6 separate regions of the Homo sapiens genome follow, and all the other regions are linked to region 5. The links are contacts of gene promoters, found by promoter capture Hi-C in blood cells and fetal thymus (Javierre and others, 2016). All regions are on one chromosome and are shown on one strand. Each heading gives the region's core, a stretch centred on a gene start or on the middle of the fragment in contact. The rest is flanking DNA. Distances are from core to core; before and after follow the strand shown. Region 1 has its middle 52 kb from the start of PHACTR2-AS1. Region 2 holds the start of PHACTR2 (phosphatase and actin regulator 2). Region 3 has its middle 4.1 kb from the start of PLAGL1. Region 4 has its middle 15 kb from the start of PHACTR2. Region 5 holds the start of ZC2HC1B (zinc finger C2HC-type containing 1B). Region 6 has its middle 39 kb from the start of PHACTR2.

What was found. The method cuts DNA at HindIII sites, captures the fragments that hold promoters and counts their contacts. A CHiCAGO score of 5 or more calls a contact.
Region 1: a contact is called between a fragment that was not itself captured here and the fragment with the promoter of ZC2HC1B in region 5, in 1 of 17 cell types (neutrophils). The highest score is 5.1, in neutrophils.
Region 2: a contact is called between a fragment that was not itself captured here and the fragment with the promoter of ZC2HC1B in region 5, in 2 of 17 cell types (megakaryocytes and erythroblasts). The highest score is 7.5, in megakaryocytes.
Region 3: a fragment that was not itself captured here is called in contact with the fragment with the promoter of ZC2HC1B in region 5 in 2 of 17 cell types (M1 macrophages and erythroblasts); the score reaches 5.8 in M1 macrophages.
Region 4: a fragment that was not itself captured here is called in contact with the fragment with the promoter of ZC2HC1B in region 5 in 3 of 17 cell types (megakaryocytes, erythroblasts and M1 macrophages); the score reaches 7.4 in megakaryocytes.
Region 6: a fragment that was not itself captured here is called in contact with the fragment with the promoter of ZC2HC1B in region 5 in 1 of 17 cell types (erythroblasts); the score reaches 5.9 in erythroblasts.

What each region holds. Positions count from the first base shown.
Region 1 is chr6:143,619,949-143,622,934 of GRCh38, reverse strand. It overlaps a transcript of PHACTR2 not described here. Among named protein-coding and RNA genes, the nearest start is that of PHACTR2-AS1, 52 kb to the right of the region's middle. The HindIII fragment of the contact is 8,835 bases long and covers 1-2,986 here.
Region 2 is chr6:143,677,239-143,680,353 of GRCh38, reverse strand. It overlaps PHACTR2 (phosphatase and actin regulator 2), which reads right to left and starts at 2,389. Exons shown (of 13, transcript NM_001100164.2): 1 at 2,145-2,389. The coding sequence starts at 2,190. RefSeq lists a silencer at 2,148-2,447 and an enhancer at 2,197-3,045. The HindIII fragment of the contact is 660 bases long and covers 1,079-1,738 here.
Region 3 is chr6:144,010,699-144,013,960 of GRCh38, reverse strand. It overlaps a transcript of PLAGL1 not described here. Among named protein-coding and RNA genes, the nearest start is that of PLAGL1, 4.1 kb to the right of the region's middle. The HindIII fragment of the contact is 1,038 bases long and covers 1,182-2,219 here.
Region 4 is chr6:143,661,569-143,664,799 of GRCh38, reverse strand. It overlaps a transcript of PHACTR2 not described here. Among named protein-coding and RNA genes, the nearest start is that of PHACTR2, 15 kb to the left of the region's middle. The HindIII fragment of the contact is 1,483 bases long and covers 1,233-2,715 here.
Region 5 is chr6:143,863,020-143,865,876 of GRCh38, reverse strand. It overlaps ZC2HC1B (zinc finger C2HC-type containing 1B), which reads right to left and starts at 1,403. Exons shown (of 8, transcript NM_001013623.3): 1 at 1,310-1,403. The coding sequence starts at 1,337. It overlaps LTV1 (LTV1 ribosome biogenesis factor), which reads right to left. Exons shown (of 11, transcript NM_032860.5): 10 at 2,591-2,791; 11 at 2,065-2,460. The coding sequence ends at 2,350. The HindIII fragment of the contact is 3,305 bases long and covers 1-2,146 here.
Region 6 is chr6:143,637,446-143,640,586 of GRCh38, reverse strand. It overlaps a transcript of PHACTR2 not described here. Among named protein-coding and RNA genes, the nearest start is that of PHACTR2, 39 kb to the left of the region's middle. RefSeq lists an enhancer at 2,479-3,022. The HindIII fragment of the contact is 1,679 bases long and covers 898-2,576 here.

The DNA of each region.
Region 1 (2,986 bases), core at 476-2,975, 240 kb after region 5:
GGTCTTATGCCTTTGATATAATCAAATCTTCCTTGAGAACATTTTTTTAAAGTATATGGTACATCTTCCTTCATGAGATAATCAAATTCAATACACTTGTTACTGTAATTATTACATGTTCTATCTTCTCCTGCAAGGAATCCCTACAAAATATATATTTTTAAATTCTAAATTTGGTTTAATGTCAAACACACACACAAAAAAATCAAGGTTCACAAGGACTTTTCTGGGTTGATAAGGATTTTTACTAACCTCATTAAGCTGCATTTTGCATCGTTTGCATTTGGCTACATTTCTCTAAACTGTCCTTTTCTCCTTAAATATTTTTAAAATCTATGTAATGAGATGGTCTATATACATCATTGTGCTCTATAGAACATTCTGTAGCTTGGTAACAATGGCAGAAGAAGTGAGTCAGCCAGCATGCATTAAATACTTACTGTGTGCCACATCTGGGGTAGGACTAAGGAAACCAACGGTAAGGTAACATTGCCCTTGAGCAGTTTCCTGGCCAGTGGGGAGACCAGATGTACGCGAGGAGAACAGCACATTGCCAAGCAAAGCAGCAGGAACACACAGTACTTGGGATGAGAGGAAGAGTCTGGGGAGCTGGGACCTAGGACTACATGACCAGAGGTGGTGACAGTGCTGGTGACACAGGGGCCTTGTGTGACGTTTTGGGCTTGAATTTTATCCTGAGGTTTGGGCAGGATCTCTGGAGATTTCTAAATTGGATGATGAGGAAACATTAAAAGATATAACCTAGCTGTCCACCTCCATTATGTCAAGAACCAGGAAATCAACCGAACTGCAACTCGGCCCGAATAAATGTAAAAAATTCACAAACTCCAGCCCACACAAGTGAATCATACACTGCCCAAGGCCTCAGTGGGGTCTGTGTACTATCATTTTGAACAAAAGGATAACACTCTTGATTATTTGGTTTCCCAGACCACACACACAAAAAGAAGAAAACAGCAGATTAGAAGGAGGGAGATGGGAGCTGCCAGAAGCAAGTGCACAACAGCAAAATGTGAGAGGTGAGCAAGGCAGGAACTCAGGGAGCCAGAGCAGGGGGACCTGGGGCCAAGTGATCACCTTGGGAGGTAGCTGAGAGGAAGAAATGAGCTACTGTTCGCAAAGATTTAAAGTCCACGTAGGTGCAAAATGAATCTATGTTACATAATACTTACTACTCAAGCCAAGTACAATCAACCCTAAACTACAGATGAGGAAAGTGAGGCTCATGGATATGCCCAAGGCCCCATACCAGCAGGTAGAACAGGCTCAGCCAGGAACTGCATTCTTCTTTTACAACTCTAATTCCATTCCTTTGCACAATCCCACACTATTCAAGGGTTGGGGTATGTTCAATTTGAGAAAGCCAGTAAATGTGATTAAATATAAGAAAGAGTTGCAATTTAATGATTCTCATGCAAAATACCAATTAAAATAAAGCGTTGGTGCTTGACAGGTGAGCTTCCTTGTAGCTGCTGGCTTCCCAAGTCCTGTGCTACTCTAGAGAGAGAGGCAGGAACTATGGGAAGGATTTGCCCTTCTGCACCGAGGAGGCCTGAGAGGGCTCGGGATCCACAGGAACTCATTCGCGCCCTCCTGAGTTTTCTTTGTTGTCAATTCACACCAAATTGAAGAAGCCAGAATGAAACCTGTGGGGGCCTCCTGATGTTTTCTGTAGACCCGTTTCATAAGCCAGGTGTCTACCTTGGTCTCTCCCTATAATCTGTCCACATTCCCTACCCAATCCTCCAATCCCTTCTCTGAAACTGGATTTCCAAGCTCAGTCTCTGTGTGAAAATGCTAAGGCTTCTTTAATGATCCTGCTCTTGTTCTTTTCCTGGAGGTTTGCACTGTCCCCCATCTGCTGCCCACCTGCCATATAAGTATATGCCCTGCATATGTGGGCTCCACTAATTAATGAGCCTCTATTGGAATTTCCAGCTGATTTCCAGTCCCTGATCACCTGGTTGCATATCCTAGTACAGAGAGCTTCAACATAGCTGATGGGGACAGTTGTGTTTTGTGACCAAAACTGTGACCAAAGCCTGTCCTCCAGTGAGACAGCCTTTGAGGCCAGGGCAAATACAACCACATTTCCCTAAAAACAATATTGCATGCGTCCCAAAGGGTAAACTGTGCCTGGCTTTCCCCCTGCATAAAAGCCAATGGAAATCACATTTGGCATGGCCTATGCCTTGTGGGTTGGCCGATGGCCAAGCATATACTCAAGCAGACATGGATTTTATATGTCAGGGCAACATTTTTTATGTGCAGTTAAGCTGTGCATGAGGCTGCTGTCTGAAAAAATAAATAAATAAACTTCTCTGCCTTAGTTTCATATCTATAAAAGCAGAACTGATGATTTGAAGTATTTACATAATTCACCGGAGAACTGTGAGAAACAAGCTATATTTGTAAGCATTTTTGAAGATGAGAGGAATTTGGTGAAGTATGTACAGCATTTTTTTTTTCCAAAAAAAAAAAACTTCATTTCTTACTAGCCCTGCATTGAAAACATAATTTTCTGGGACATGATTTTGTTTTACAGTAACCCAGGTGCTCAAGGGTACTTTGGGAGTTTTTGTAGTTTCGAGGTTCCATGAAAACCTTCCCTGAGACAGCTAAAGACAAAGCCCACATCTGTTAGTATAAGAGACACCTTTGTTTATGGAGCATTAGGGCTGTGACAAAAAGACTGACATAAGCCAGGATATTTAGAAGTTAAAGCTGGAGCTTTATTCTAAATGTATGCTACAGAGCTCCTGGTTTTCCACGAAGTCTGGATTTTAAAAACAAAGTTGGCTTTAATTTTCAACTATCTGGCTTTTTTCAACTATCGTCACAGTCATACAGTTATTTAAACAAATGTCTTTGAACTTCCTTAACTTAAAAAAGTGACCCTAAGGTTAATGAATGTTGTGAAATGCTTACTGTTTGAACAAATGAACTGACCCCCCACCCCCGACCG
Region 2 (3,115 bases), core at 159-2,658, 190 kb after region 5:
TGCTCCAGACTTAAACAACTAGTCAATGGCTAAGATCAAACAGAACAAGGATCTTCACGCCATCTGTAAAGCCAGAGTTAAACAGTTAACAAGGAGTGAACAAAATACCTGGAATAGTAGAGAGTTTGACAGTCTCAGACTCAGAAAAATACAGACATGAATATAAAACTCAGCAAACGTTATTTAATTTAAATTTTTTTTTTTTTGGTTTTCATTTGGAATCTGATGGCAAACCTTCAGGGAAACAGGGTAGCTCTAACGGATTTAGAGACACTGGATACCACGAGAAAACTGTTCTTTTACAATACCACAACTTAAGTCATAACCACTGTCATTCCTTAACTGAAAAATAAAAAACCCTGTATTTATGATGTATGGATTGGTCATTTCAATTCATACAAACTTTTAATCCGCAAAACTGAGGACCTGCAATTTAAGTATAACACCGTTCCGTGAGATATTTCTCTGAATTATCTTTCATGATCAAGCATAAATTTTTGTTTAAAACACTTTTTACTTAAGTAGATTACAGTTTCTCATTATAATCAGTCATTTTATTTGGAATTATAGCAATCCGGGTTTTTTTGCTGTACTAAGACGTAGGGAGTCTCACTTTAGGATTTTATTTGCTTCTTAGACATCATTTATATAATATTCCTTGATTTTTATTAAGGCAAAATTTGCTTTTCTAATATTCACTCGAGTAATATTTTGTGATAAAATCACTAAATTCAGGACAATACTTTCTGTATACTCTTGTATTGGAGTACAGATTTAATTCTATCTTCGCCGGTGCACAAATGTAAAAATATAACCCTTCCTTGAAATGAAAAGAAGTCTCACACCACTTTAAGGTAAGACAAAGGAAACCAAGTCTTATTTGCACAAAATAGTTTACTAAATTTAAAATCCTACTCAACCCCTCCCCGCAAATATCTCTCAAAAAGCTGTCAACATGAGGTCTTTGATTTCAGAGCTGTAGCCATGTCATTAATGGTAAAGAAGGTATATTCTGATTCTGATGTCTCTTCTTTGCAGAAGGGTCTTCTGTGGTATTAACAGAAACCTCAGCAAAGCTTGTGGTATCTCAGGGAGTGAAGCTGTGCTACCTAAAGAAACCCACTGGGTATAAAGTGGGGTGGGGGGTTGGAATGACAGAATGCTATCTAGCTAGACATCCTGAGGCAGATTAAAAAACCTTCCTCTGTACCCTGTCATTTCCTTTCAGCAAGATCCTGTTGATGTTTGCACAATTTAAAAAGTGTATCAAATATCTCAATGAGTAACATAAACGGTCCCTTCGAGTATTATTTATTTTTAATCGTTGATGGAAAAATATCAAAATAGTACCTTTTAAATTTATTTCCTTATCCAATCACAAGTAACACCACCAAACAGTTTTTTTTTTTTTTATCCCTACACTGTCGGGGAAATGCCAGACGTACCTTCCTTCCCTCTTTTTGTTTAAGAAAATGGAAAAAAGAAACTTTTAAAACAGAGCATTAGAACTCAGACACGTTACACACGTCTCCATAAAACTAACTTTAGTCCTGGAGAACTAAGTTCATGAGATATGTTTCCCTAAATGTTATAGCTGCTGTATCTACTATAAACAAAACAAGTCTCATTTGAAACAATTACGCATTTCGGGGCTAGTTATTAAGTATTCAGCGTCTGCCAGGATAAGGCGATCAGCGCTTCTACTCCGAATAACAAACCATAAATCAGTTGACAAGCTTGAAAGCATTCAGTCCTAGTCTGTTCGGAAGCCAAGCGTAAATACAGAAAAACCTGTTGGCATGTTTCTCTTGCTCTCTAAGTTTCGCGTTTTTAAAAACACTGTAATACGCAAATGGCGTTTCCCGTAAGTTTCTGGCTCCGAAATAATTTGGATAAAAAACCACAGCGAGGCATCGCGCACAGAAAAATGGAGCCTGTGCCTTTAAGGTAAAATCGGCTGGATCCCAAAAGGCATTCCTCTTTCACGACAAAGAGTTTGGCGAGCGCTACCTCTGGGGTTTCTCCGAGGGACTTGGCGGGTCCGAGCGGAACCCGACCAGACGACTAACCCTGCCTGCCCCGGGGCCCCGCCGCCAGCCCTGCGCCCGCGCGGCGGGAGCGCATCGCGTGCGCCCCGGACTCACCGCTGCCGGGCTGCGGGGACAGCGTGGACACCGAGGTCTGGCCCATGACTGGGGTCGCAGGGCCAGGTCCAGCGATCAAGCGGCTCCTTTGGTCCTTCGATCATGGGTCCGCTCCCAGCCAGACTTCCAGGCGTTCATGTCCCGGCCTGTGCCGAGCGGCCCGCCGGGTCCCCTCACCTTCTACCCCGCGCGGGTCTCCCAGCCCGGCCGGCCGCAGCCGGCGCGGCGGATCCTGCCCAGCGGATGCCTGTCATTCCTCTATGCAGATTAGCTGGGGTCAGGGGTCACGGGGGAAGAAGGGGGGTGAGGGCGATAGGGAGGGGAGGAGGGGGAAGCGGGGGGAGGGCGCAGGAGCAGGGGGTGGGGGAAGCCCCCAGCCGGCCCCGCCGCACCCGCACCCCCTCAGGGTGGTAGGGAGTTCAGGCTTTCAGACTACTCCTCTTTGACTTAAAAGGTTCAAAGTCAAATGATCCTTACGGGCTACAAGAAAAGGAATTAAAGTATTTAGTCACGGTACTTAATTTAACAAAATTTGTTTCTTAAAAGTTATTTCCTTCCTTACATTCTATTTGCAGTATTGTGGCACTCTCATGTCTTGTGCCCATTTTTTTCTCGTTTTAAAAATTATCTTCCTTTTAACAAATATAATTTTTTAAAAACGGCACTAATGGCCTCAATCAGGCTTGACAACAAATCTAAATGGTAGGTCTACGTGTGAGATCAACAAAATATACTTTTTGCTGTCTCCCACCTAAAACTCTGGAGTGCTGACCTCTCCTTTATTTCAAAAGAATTACTGTGAAATAAAGTGATTAAAATACACAAAAGGGGAAAAAAACTATAACAAACTTGAAAGGTGAATTAAACCCTTCTATAATATCCTGTTAAATCTCAATCTTCTTAAAAATATGAATACAAATAAATATTCTTCATATTTACAGTTAATGATTAATTAGTATAAGTAATCTTCA
Region 3 (3,262 bases), core at 451-2,950, 150 kb before region 5:
TTTGACATGAGGACTGACTGATGACCCTCGAAAATATTTGTGTCCTAATCTCTGGAATCTCAGAATGTAACCTGAGTTGAATAAAAGGGTCTTTGCAGATGTGACTTAAGTTACGGATCTTGAAATGAGGAGACCACCTTCAGTTATTTCAGTGAGTCCTAAGTACAGTGACATCTACCCCTATAAGAGAGATACACACAGGAGAAAGCACATGGCACGCACAGAGAAGGCGTTGTGAAGATGGAGGCAGAGATTGGCATGCTGTGGCCGCAAGCCAAGGAAGCCGAGGAAGCCAGGGAATGGCAGTGGTCACCAAAAGCTGGAAGTTGTGAGGAAGGAATCTCCACTAGAGCCACTAGATGGCGCCTGCGGCCTTTGCTGATATCTTGATTTCAGACTTCTGGCCTTTCGGACTCAGAAAATAAATTTCATGTTTTATGCCACCAGTTTGTGGTAATTTGTTATGGCAGCTATAGGATAAAATATAGCCACTATCTGGCTAAGGAAGTTCCATTCCATTCCTAGTTGTCATTTTTTTCAGGATGGGGTGTAGTTGTCAAATGCTCTTTTTGCATCAATTGAAAATAACATTTTCCCCCTCCATTATTTTGTTAATGTGGGCATAATCTGTATGATTGTCTGCCCATGTGGTATTAATTTTAGCCCCATCATAGCTGTTACCCCTGGTAACACCTGTTCCTGAAAGTGTTGGGTCCTGACACATTGTATCAACCTATAGATGTGTCAGCATGAATTTTCTTGTTCTGCATTTGCTGAAGAAATGTTAAGAAGTCATTCAATAGTCTGCAGAATAAAATGGAATCTCCAAATACTTAGAGAAAAAGTGTGATTATGGAATTTGTCCTGAGGGGTTCTGTCTACTACAGTGACCACGCTGGCAACCCTTGGGTCCAGTTTGACCTGGAGAAATACTTCATGTGGCCTCTGCAGTGTTTCCAAAATTAGAAGATTTTATATTAAAATGTTAGATAGCATACTTCCCTTGAAAATTATGCAGATGTGGCAACCCTGCCCTGAGTTCAAACATGGCAGCCATTGGCCTGAGCTGAGCATCTGCCCCTTACACAAAGAATGTCCTTTTCACTTTACCACAGTCCCATTGTTCCTCACTGTTTTAAACTTTGTAGAGATTTGAGTTTGCAACCCCTGCTCCAGAAGCTTTGCTAGGGCATGCTGTAATGCCAAAGCATGCGTCATTGAGGGAAAGCTCAGGAGAAAAAGAGTGTGTCACAGCTACCAGGTCAACATAGTCATGTTCAAAGAGACCACTGTGGAAATAACCTAAAGATAAAAAAGGATTTCATATAGTTCATTACCAGTGAGAAAGAAAGACTGCTTGACTGACTTCTGGATAAAGATGGCACAAGGAAGCACTAAAAAAATCAAAATTAAAATACTAAATCATCCAGGCATGGTGGCTCACGTCTGTAATCCCAGCACTTTGGGAGACTGAGACAGGCGGATCACCTGAGGTCAGGAGTTTGAGACCAGCCTGGCTAACATGGCGAACTTCCCCCCAACCCAGCACCCCCATACCAGCCTCTACTAAAAATACAAAAATTAGCCGGTTGTGATGGTGCACGCCTATAATCCCAGCTACTCAGGAGGCTGAGACAGGAGAATTGCTTGAACCCGGGAGGCAGGTTGCGGTGAGCCAAGATCATGCCACTGTACTCCAGCTTGGGTGACAGAGCGAGACTCTGTCTCAAAAACAAAACAAAACACTAAATCACCCAAAGGAAAGAAAGCAACAAAAAACTTACATGCTGCAACCAAAGAAGAAAAAAGTACAACCTTATAATGTAAAATTTGAGAATTGATAGCAAAAACAAAGAGAACAGAAGATTCTATGGAGGCGTGCTTTGTCTCCAGATGAACCTATGTCTGCCCAGCCCTCCACCCACCGCTGCAAGACATGTTGAGGAAAAAGATGATCAGACCAAATCCTAAGAATTCTCACAAACGTCCCCCAATGTGGAAAGGCAGGGCACACCTGTGAGATGTTGAGGAACCTTTGCATACCACTGTTGGATCTTGCCAGAGGCAGGAAAGTTTCCCACTTTCTGGGATACTGTGCTGAACTGAGCAAATGAACTGAAACTCTGAGGCATGGGATGTTCCCTTGGCTAGCTTGAAGTCCAGCTGCCAGAGGACTTAAAGGAATCTCAGATGTGAAGGTTGAGTTCCTCCAGCAAGCTTTATACTCTGTCTGAGCTGAATTCCACACATCCCCTTTTCCCCCACCTCTCCTTGTCCGAAAAACCTTGGATCACAGAACAAGTAGATAGAAACAACATTCAGCCCTGAAAAAGCAGCGTATTCAGATATATAATATACATGGGACATTAGAAAAGAACATAATCTATAAATTGGAAGATCATACTGTATGCTGGGGGGAAAAATTGATCTAGAATAACTGACACAGAGGCATAGCCCAGATAAGAATACTAAAGGGTATATTAATGTTAAAGAATTCTTCAGGTATCCAAGCAGAAAAATCAAGCCACCTCCAAGGGGAAAATTACATGGGATTAAGATCTTTCCACAGAAATCTTTGAAGCATTTCTCTAATGACCAGTAATGATGAGCTTTTTTCATATGTTTGTTGGCCACATAAATGTCTTCTTTTGAGAAGTGTCTGTTCATATCCTTTGCCCACTTTTTGATGGAGTTGTTTTTTTCTTATAAATTTGTTTAAGTGCTTTGTAGATTCTGGATATTAGCCCTTTGTCAGATGGATAATTGCAAAAATTTTCTCCCATTCTGTAGGTTGCCTGTTCAGTCTGATGATAGTTTCTTTTGGTGTGCAGAAGCTCTTTAGTTTAATTAGATCCCAATTGTCAATTTTGGCTTTTGTTGCCATTGCTTTTGGTGTTTTAGTTATGAACTCTGCCCATGCCTATGTCCTGAATGGTATTGCCTAGGTTTTCTTCTAGGCTTTTTATGGTTTTAGGTCTGATGTTTTAAGTCTTTAGTCCATCTTGAGTTAATTTTTGTATAAGGTGTAACGAAGCGGTCCAGTTTCAGTTTTCTGCATATGGCTAACCAGTTTTTCCCAACACCATTTATTAACTAGGGAATCTTTTACCTATTGCTTGTTTTTGTCAGGTTTGTCACAGATCAGATGGTTGTAGATGTGTGGTGTTATTTCTGAGGACTCTGTTCTGTTCCATTGGTCCATATATCTGTTTTGGTACCAGTACCATGCAGTTTTGGTTACTGTAGCCTTGTAGTGTAGTTT
Region 4 (3,231 bases), core at 725-3,224, 200 kb after region 5:
ATAAAATAAAAATAAAGAAAGAAAATGAACCTAGAGGTAAGGGTGGTATGCATGAAACAACAGTGAGCACAGAAAGTGAGGACATGATGGTGAATTTAATAAACTATCGGCTCTGCAAATGAGGAAGTAGTGAAGTTTTAACATGTATGTTAAAGTCCTGATTTTGATCGGGGAAAGATATATGTACTAAATAATTTTAAACTTTGTTAGAAAAAGTAACTGTTTCAAATAGTAAGAAAGATATAACTATAAGCTTCCAAATCACTAAACAAAAGAAGGGGATTAAAGAAAGCTTCACTAATCCAAATAATGAGAAAATGAAAGAAAATTGAAGAAGAGCATGCTTAAAAAGATGACACAAATTAAGATGGCAATGTAAGTCCAAATTAGTAATCTCAATAAATATGAAAGGAATAAGCTTTCTTATCTAATGACAAAGACTAAAAAATTGTGAGCAGCAGAAACATAGTACATCTCTTTCTTTATCTGTCATTTTTAGAAGACACACCCCAAACAGCAAAAGCTGAAAATAAAAGTATGAAAAATATTTACTAAGAAAATTCTTACCAAAAGAAAATTTATAATCTCAATATTAATAATAGATAAATTAAAACTGAAGGTAAAATAACAAATAGTATAGAGGGACATATTATATAGTGTAATGACAAAAATTATAATCTAACAGGATGTTCAAATTATTATCTCATATATCCCTGACATCAGAACCATATATATATCTAAAGCAAAAACTAACAGAATTACAATGATAAACGGACAGATCCACAATAATAAGGAGAGATTTTTAACATACCATCAAAAACTAATAGATCATGAAAACAAAATATTTTTAAGGTCATGAATTTAAACAATCCCATTGACAAGCTTGATGTAATACACAAACGTGTAGAGACTTGTACTCAAGAAAATGGCAACTGTACATTGATTTAACACTAGATCATAACAGAAATCTCAATAAATTTTAAGTAATTCATATTAAGTAATCCCTGATCTCTGACCATAATGTAATTAAATTAAAAATCAACAAGAAAACCTAGTTAAAAACAGAAATAAAAACCCCTCCCACACATTTTTAGAAACTGAAAGAAACATACTCCTAAGTAACACAAGAAAATCCAATTGTAGCATAAAATATTTAGAACTAAACAACAATGAAAGCACTATAAAACATGTAGAATTAAGCTAATGTGGTAATTAGAGCTATATTTAAAGCTTTAATCGCATTTATTTAAAAAAACAAAGAAAAGATCTATTCAGGGAAAGATAATCACACAAATGAATTAGGTCAATATTAAATGATAAAGCTAAAAAGGGAAAGAAAAGAAAAAAGAACAGAGTAAAAAACAAAATGATAAAAACAAGGGCACCAATGAAACAGAATCTTAAAATCAAGAGAAGTGATTCAATGCTTTGGGATATTCAGTACTTCATTCATCCACGGGGAGGGCAAGCCTTCACTCAGCATGTTGAGAGAGTGCTCTGCAACTTTGAATGAAAAATGTAATTGGAAGAACTTAAAACAGAGTTACCATGTGACCCAAAAATATCATTACTGGGTATATACTCAAAGGGAAATAGATCACTATAGCAAAAAGACACATGCACTCGTACGTTCATCACTGTGCTATTCACAATAGCAGAGACATGGAATCAACCTAGGTGCTCATTAGTGGGGGCCTGGCTAGAGAAAACGTGGTACAAATACACCAGGGAATATTATACAGCCATAAAAAAAGAATGAAATAATGTCCTTTGCAGCAACATGGATGCAGCTGGAGATCATATCCTAAGCAAATTAATACAGGAACAGAAAACCAAATATCACATATTCTCACTTATAAGTGGGAGCTAAACATTGAGCACACATGGACATAAACATGAGAACAATAGACACTGTGTACTATAGGGGGAAAGGAGAAGAATGTGGGTTGAAAAACTACCTATTGGGTACTCTGCTCACTGTCTGGGTGCAATATACACCCATATAACAGTCCTCCATACATACCCCCTGTATCAAAAATAAAAGCCGAAATTAAAGAAAAAAAGAAAAAACTAATTGTAATATAGGTGAAGACAATTCACAATTCAAGATGAAAAACAAAACTGCCTGGTAGTCATAAGAACTGAAACATCCCTAGTAGGAAGGTGAATTTAAATATTACTGTTTTGCATTCAGGGAAAAATACAGATGCATTTTTAGTGTTGTTTAAAACACTTTCATTATTCAATAGTTCAGCATTTTATAACTAAAAACAGATGAAGAACTCCTACCCACTACTTATTTTTACTTTCTGAAGAGTAAATAGATATCTGTAATATTTTTTATTTGTAGTACAATGATATCTTTAAAACTCCAAACGACATCTTAAGGGAATAACAAACAAAATAAGTAGTTTCTTATATTTAACAGGCTTAACTTCATCTCTTCTTTACTTTTATGTTCCTTGTATTTTAAAATAGGGGAAAAAAAGCTATAAAGTTATTTCCTAAAACACACTTAGTTTTATTAGAACTTAAATCTAAGAAATGCCTCCAAGTAAAACAGCTCTCTAGGGTAAGTTGTGCATATTGAAGAGGCTTTTTAATATAAAATGGATTTCAGTAACTGCAAATTACTTCTCAATTAGGGAATGTTGACACATTCTCCAAACAGGTGATAAAGATGGGAGCTGAGAAAGGGGGAGGAGCAATGAAGCTTGCAGGTGCTCTGACTTAATCTTTCATCAAAACAAGATTTATTCAGGGAGAAATCATGTAATCACACAATTAAGAAGTACATATACAAAATGTGCTTGGAATATTGCCATTTTAAATCCACACATCACCCTCCAATGCAATGAGGGTCTTTTGCTGAGGGGTTTTCATTCCTCCAAATTTTCCAGGTAGAGAACTTGCAATTTTGAGAATGCACAAGGGAAAATTTTAGGTCAGGTGCAGTGGCTCATGCTTGTAATCCCAGCACTTTTGGAGGCTAAGGCAAGCGAATCACATGAGGCCAGGAGTTCGACATCAGCCTGGTCAACCTGGTGAAACCCCTTCTCTACCAAAAATACAAAAAATTAGCCAGGTGTGGTGGTGCATGTCTGTAGTCCCAGCTACTTGGGAGGTTGAGTAGCTTCCCTTTGAACCTGGGAATAGGAGGTTGTAGTGAGCCGAGATTGTGCCACATTCCAGCTTGGGTGACAGAGCGAGACTGCCTCAAAGAAAAAAAAA
Region 5 (2,857 bases), core at 154-2,653:
ACTACTGCGCTCCAGCTCGGGCGCCAGAGCAAGACCTGTCTTGGCAAAAAAAAAAAGTTTAAGATACAAATTCTTCAAGATTTTGCCCCCTGCCTGGATCTCTTAGGCCTTTCTCTCCTCCCTAACCCCAGTGATTCTAGGCCCTGCTATGGTTCTATGTTTAATTCTTTTCTGAAATCTTTCCCATCTATCCATTCATTCATACACTACTTTGTGACTGTATACTGAATGCCAGGCACCCTTCCAGACCTAAGGATAAAGCAATAAATAAAACACTGTGCCTTCAGGGTTTGTCCTGCGAGAGGAGACTGAAAAACAGTCCTCTGCGTCAACAGATGTTGTGGAGAACATAAACCAGGGAAGGAGGGTCAAGGATGCAGGGGAGGGATGCGTGCAGGATTTTTAAATACAAGCTCAGGGAATAGCCTATAGTGAAGGTTACAGCTGAGCACCAACCATGAGGAAGGTCTGTCTGCAGTGAAAGCACTTCTGGGGGAACAGCAAGTACCAAGATTCTAATTACAAGTGGTACTTACCACGATAGTATTGCCAGTTACATTTCGCTGCACCTATCCTGCCTCCTCAGACCATGTGGCTCCTGAAGGCAAAAACCCTCTGATCTCTTGGGCTCCCAACATTTAGCATGGAGCTTTTATGTTCAGTTCCCAATCATCATTTATAGATTTTTAGAGAACCAAGATATCAGAAAATTCATTTAAAGTATCATGAATTTGTTCTTCAGAATAAAATTAAAATATTTAAGTTTGGAGTATAACCTGCCTAAATCACAATATGCTTCATCAAGACTCATGGCCTAGTCTTTTTCTCTTAATTGCAAAATATATAATATATGGATTTAAACACAGTGAAGTTAGCACCTCATAACACAGAATTTGAGTAACATGACAAAGAAACATCCAATGCCTATTAAGACTCTTGCTGTTTTTGAGAATCTTCAGTTGAGACAGCTATCAAAATAAATGGCCAATCCTTTTAGTACTTACATTCTCAATATTGACATAAACCATCATCTGACCCTTTACTTCACAGGTTGGCATTTAAATACATTCTCTCCAGTATCCTACTTCTGCAATGACAAGCTCTTCAGTCAAGATTTTTTTCTAGCCAATGTTGGTAGAATACCTAATGCCATCAGTTTTGACAACTCTTTAAAAATCCTACAATACTTAGATTTAAACGGATCACACATGGTAGAACAAGCTAATACCTACCAGCTTTGGAAAAGCCATAAATGAATGATTACAGATGAAGGCATTTTCTAATAATTTAGATATCAAGTGCAGCTCACCTGCCAAAAATGGTTCTGCCCCAGCCATTCTGTTCCTAACTCAGAGCAACAGTGTTCACAGATTTTTACAGCCCAGTCCAGATAACATCATACTAGTCAAGAACATAAACCAGGACCACTAATCTGTTGCAAGAAGTCATAGTTTACCAAATAATCAACAATTGTGATGATGTCATTGCCTAAACCTTGAAAAAGTTTAAATCAGTTAAAACAAAAATCAACTCATCAAAAACAGGGAAAGTTTTCAACGATGTATTTTAATCAAGTATGAATGGTTCCAAGCATTAACTGATGTTGAAAAGACAAACTCCCCAGTTTAAACTGAAATAAATATTTCTGATTTTGAACTAGGGACTCACTGAAGCCAAATAAGTTTTCTTATTTCCTTGACTATTCTGTTTCCTGCCTTCACTGTTCCTAAATCCCAAAAGCAAGTCATCCAGTAATATAACAGGAAATATGAATCTTAAGAACCTTAATATTCAGTTTTGCCACACTTTTGAAACAGTCCTTTGTATACAGCAAGGGAAAACTTAGCTTCCTAACAGTGGAACCTTCTCAGAAAAACTCATCTTACACTAAACAGAATAAAGTCAGCATTTCAAAATTGAGTTTAACCAGGCCACTTTTCTATTTACAGCAAATTAAACCATGTAATTCCTGAAAAGGCGTGGAGAGGATTCAAAGAAATATTTGAAAACATCTGCAAAAAACAACTATGACAACCATACAAATAAATGAATACACCAATTCCATTCACGTTATGAAGATATTTTCCTTTAATTTATCAAACATTTCACATTCATGAAGTCATTTACTTCAGAGCAAATGTAAGCTTATAATATTAAAAATTAAAGTATTACAATATTTACAAGATGGTTGGCAGGGGACACTTACTAGTATAAAAATAATACAAATATTGTATTTTCCTCTTATCTGCCAGTAAAAATGGCAAACAGTTTTGTCTTTCTGAAGTTTCTAGTCAATAACCAAAGATGAGGAGCCCCTAATAAAGTGCCTTGCCCTGTATGCTCCACTGTCTATAGCTTTAGACCCTCAACATTCTTCTTCAAGTTCAGCAGCTCTTTTTCTTGCCTTCTTTTCTCCAGTTTAAATGCTAATTTGTTAGCTTTCTTCTCCACTCTTCGTTCCTGTTATAAGTACAAGAATATACTTGTATTATTCACATCTTTAAACTGATACAGACTGCTTTTACAAAATTCCCCTAATTTCCCCTCCACCAGCTCTTTGTAAATCTCACATTTGAAAAATATATTTTACCTTGCGCTCTTCTTTTATAGCTTGCTTTCTTGCTCTTTTATCTTCTTTGCTTTCATTTTTAGAACGTGGCTGAGTTGATACTTTAGGAAGATCACTGCCATTAATCATCTGTATTCTTTCAGTTTGCTTTGCTGTGAGTCCTTTCTTTGGTAAGACATTGAGAGGTATTCCTGTTTTAGAAGATATTCGAATTTGTTTGGGCTGAAATACAGATAAAATGGTACTAGAGTTACTTCTCATTCCTATTAAAAAATAGCTCATTAATGA
Region 6 (3,141 bases), core at 488-2,987, 230 kb after region 5:
GGAATACAAAACCCATTGACCTTTTGTAGGCATTGACTGGTTCTGTGAGGTCTGCTTCACCTTCCAGCCTCGTCTCCTGGCTCACTTCTCCTCCATCTCTGCACTTCCATAAACGCATCTAGCTAGATAGCAAGTTGCTCTCCTTATGTCTCTCTGTAAGTCTTTTGTTTGAGAACGTTATTCTATTCTATTTGACTGAGTGACCTGGTTAACTTTGCTCATCTATCCATCTTTTGTGTCTTCTTCTGGAATACCTTCTGGAGGAACTGACTGAGGCTGTTTTACAGTGACCTTTTAAAAAACAGTAAGTAGAAGCAGTACACTCTAAAATGGTGATTAAAAGTATAGTAAATCCACAAACCGGTAACATAGACATTTGTTGTCATTATCAAGCATTATGCACTGTACATAATTATATGTGCTACACTTATATACAACTGGCAGTGCAGTAGGTTTGTTTACACCAGCATCAGCACAAACTTGTGAGTAAAGCATTTGCACTATGACAGCACAACAACTGTGACATCACTAGGTTATAGGAATTCTTCAACTCTATTACAGTTACACAGAATTACCATCATATATGTGGCCCACTGTTGGCAGAAACATCATTATGTAGCACATGACTCTATTAATAACAAGTTGTTATTCCTTGCTTCCTCCAGCTTCTGGAGGCTAGGAACCAGAACACATTATCTTTAGAGTAGTTATGTTGACTTCTAATTTCATTGCACTACAGTGAGAAAATGTAATGCAAATCAAATCACCCTTCAGTGGTTCTTAAAACTTCTTTTGTGACTGTGTAAATAGTCAATATTTGTGTATGTTTCATATTTGCCTAAGAGGAATGAATATCTACTTGTTGTGTGCAGAGTTCTTGATCAATTACATCAAGCTTGTCAACTGTCTTGCTCAAACCATCGCTATCCTTACTCATGATGGGGTATGCTAATCCATCATCAAAGGGAGAGTTAGTAATCCCTCCCGCTATAATCAGGCTTTCTCACTCCCAAACCTAAAGACTTTTCCCCAGCACAATTAATTCTTTTTGAATGGGCCAAATGTCATCTAGATGCCAAAAGTAAAAATAGGTGATCTACATAAGCAGAAAACAAAAGTGTGAATTAAAAATAAGAATTATTTTGCTTGTGTCACTTATAAAATGGCTCTGAATATGCTTTCACTTAGTAATTTTTGAAATGTTTTGAGCAATGATAGCCTTGATGGCATAAACACTAACTCCCAACGTGATTTAAAGATTAAATCACTATATAAAGTTCTGTTACATTTGTTTTACAACATTACATTGCTATAGGTATATCTTACCATTAATTTGTTTTGGAAAGACAGACTGTACTTCAGGTACTTTGCAGCAATTGTCATTTTATGAAGCATGTCATTGGTGGCTCATGAAAGCAGAAAGATGTAATGATTCAAAAATAATTCAGAAGAATATTGGACACTGTTAAAAAATTATGCATAAGTATGTAGATTCATCTGACTTTATCAGCCCTTGGCTGAGGCTTTTGATGCTACACTGAATAATTTTATTGCCTGACAACTGGGCAAAGAGAAAATGATCATTAAGGAGATAATGTCATTCATAGTTTTGGGGAAGCTACGAACACTCTAAATTACAATTTTTAGACAGAATAAATTTTGTAAACTACTGATTATTAAGGACAAATATGCAATTGGGCAGGAAAATTGACAGAGTAGAACAAAGGAATTTATCTATATTGCTAGAAAGAGCAATGGACAAGACACATGTACTTCCCTATATGCAAGAAGCATTGTCTGTGGATTTACTATTCTTAAAATATTTGAAGGAAAAGTATGATGAATCTGCCTGCTAACATTCATCTTCTAACTTCACTGCCCTTTTTTAAAAGTATGTATTTAGCATTTTTTCTTAAGCAAATATACATTTGGGGTGTTTAATGCTTAATATAAAATGAAAAATTAGCTCAAAACTTGGATAGCTGGGTGTGTGTGTGTGTGTGTGTGTGTATGTGTGTGTGTGTAATACTTTTTTTTTTTTTTGAGACAAGGTCTTGCTCTGTGGCCCAGGCTGGAGTGCAGTGGTATGATCATAGTCACTGCAGCCTTGAACTCCTGGGCTCAAGCAATCCTCCCATCTCAGCCTCCTGAGTAGCTGGGACTATGGGCATGCACCACCATGCCCAGCTAATCTTTTAATTATTATTTTTGTATAGACGGGGTCTTGCTATGTTGCCCAGGCTGGTTTCAAACTCCTGGCCTAAAGTGATCCTCCCACCTTGGCTTCCCAAAGTGCTGGGATGATAGGCATGAGCCACTGCACCTGGCATTCCTCTGCTTCTTTTTAAGCCATAGCGATCACTGAATTTGTAACTGCCAATCAAGCTCTCAGCAATACTATAACTTAAGTCTCTATTTGCTACAAGGAAGACCTTAGTATTTGTGGTTTCTGTCTATATTTACTGAAATAATTCATCAACTACACACTAAAAATATTATTGTAACCTTGCTCTGGAATCATTAGATTGTTTTTACCAGAAATGCTATTGCTTTTGTTTGAAATTGACATGAAAGCTTTGTGGTGGACTGACACTTAGATGATCCCCCCATGATCACTGCCTCCTGGTGTTCAAGCCTTTGTGTAATCCTCTCCCTTTAAGTATGGGTGGGACCTGTGTCTTGTTTCTAACAACTAGAACATAGCAAAGGTGACGGGATGTCACTCCCATGACTATGTTATCACGTTTGCCAAAGGCGAAGGGATGTTTCTCCTGTGATTGTATTATGTTATAAAAGACTCCCATTGCTACAGCAGATTTGCATTAGAGCCTTGCTCTCCTTGCTGGCTTTGAAGAAGCAAGCTGCCATGAGTGCTGCAGCTGCAAAGAACTGACTCTGCTAACATGGGACCAGTCCCTTTTCCCCAGTCAAGCCTCCACATGAGGACTGTGTCCTGCCCAACACCTAAAGTGTAGCCTTGCAGAAGACCCAGCTAAGTTGTGCCTGAACTCCTGACCCATACAAGCTGTGACATAGTTAATATGTGTTGTGTTAAGCTGCTAAATTTGTGATAATTTGTTATGCAACATAGAAAATGAATATACTTCAATTTCGCAAAGTCTTACTGAGAACATATTGAGG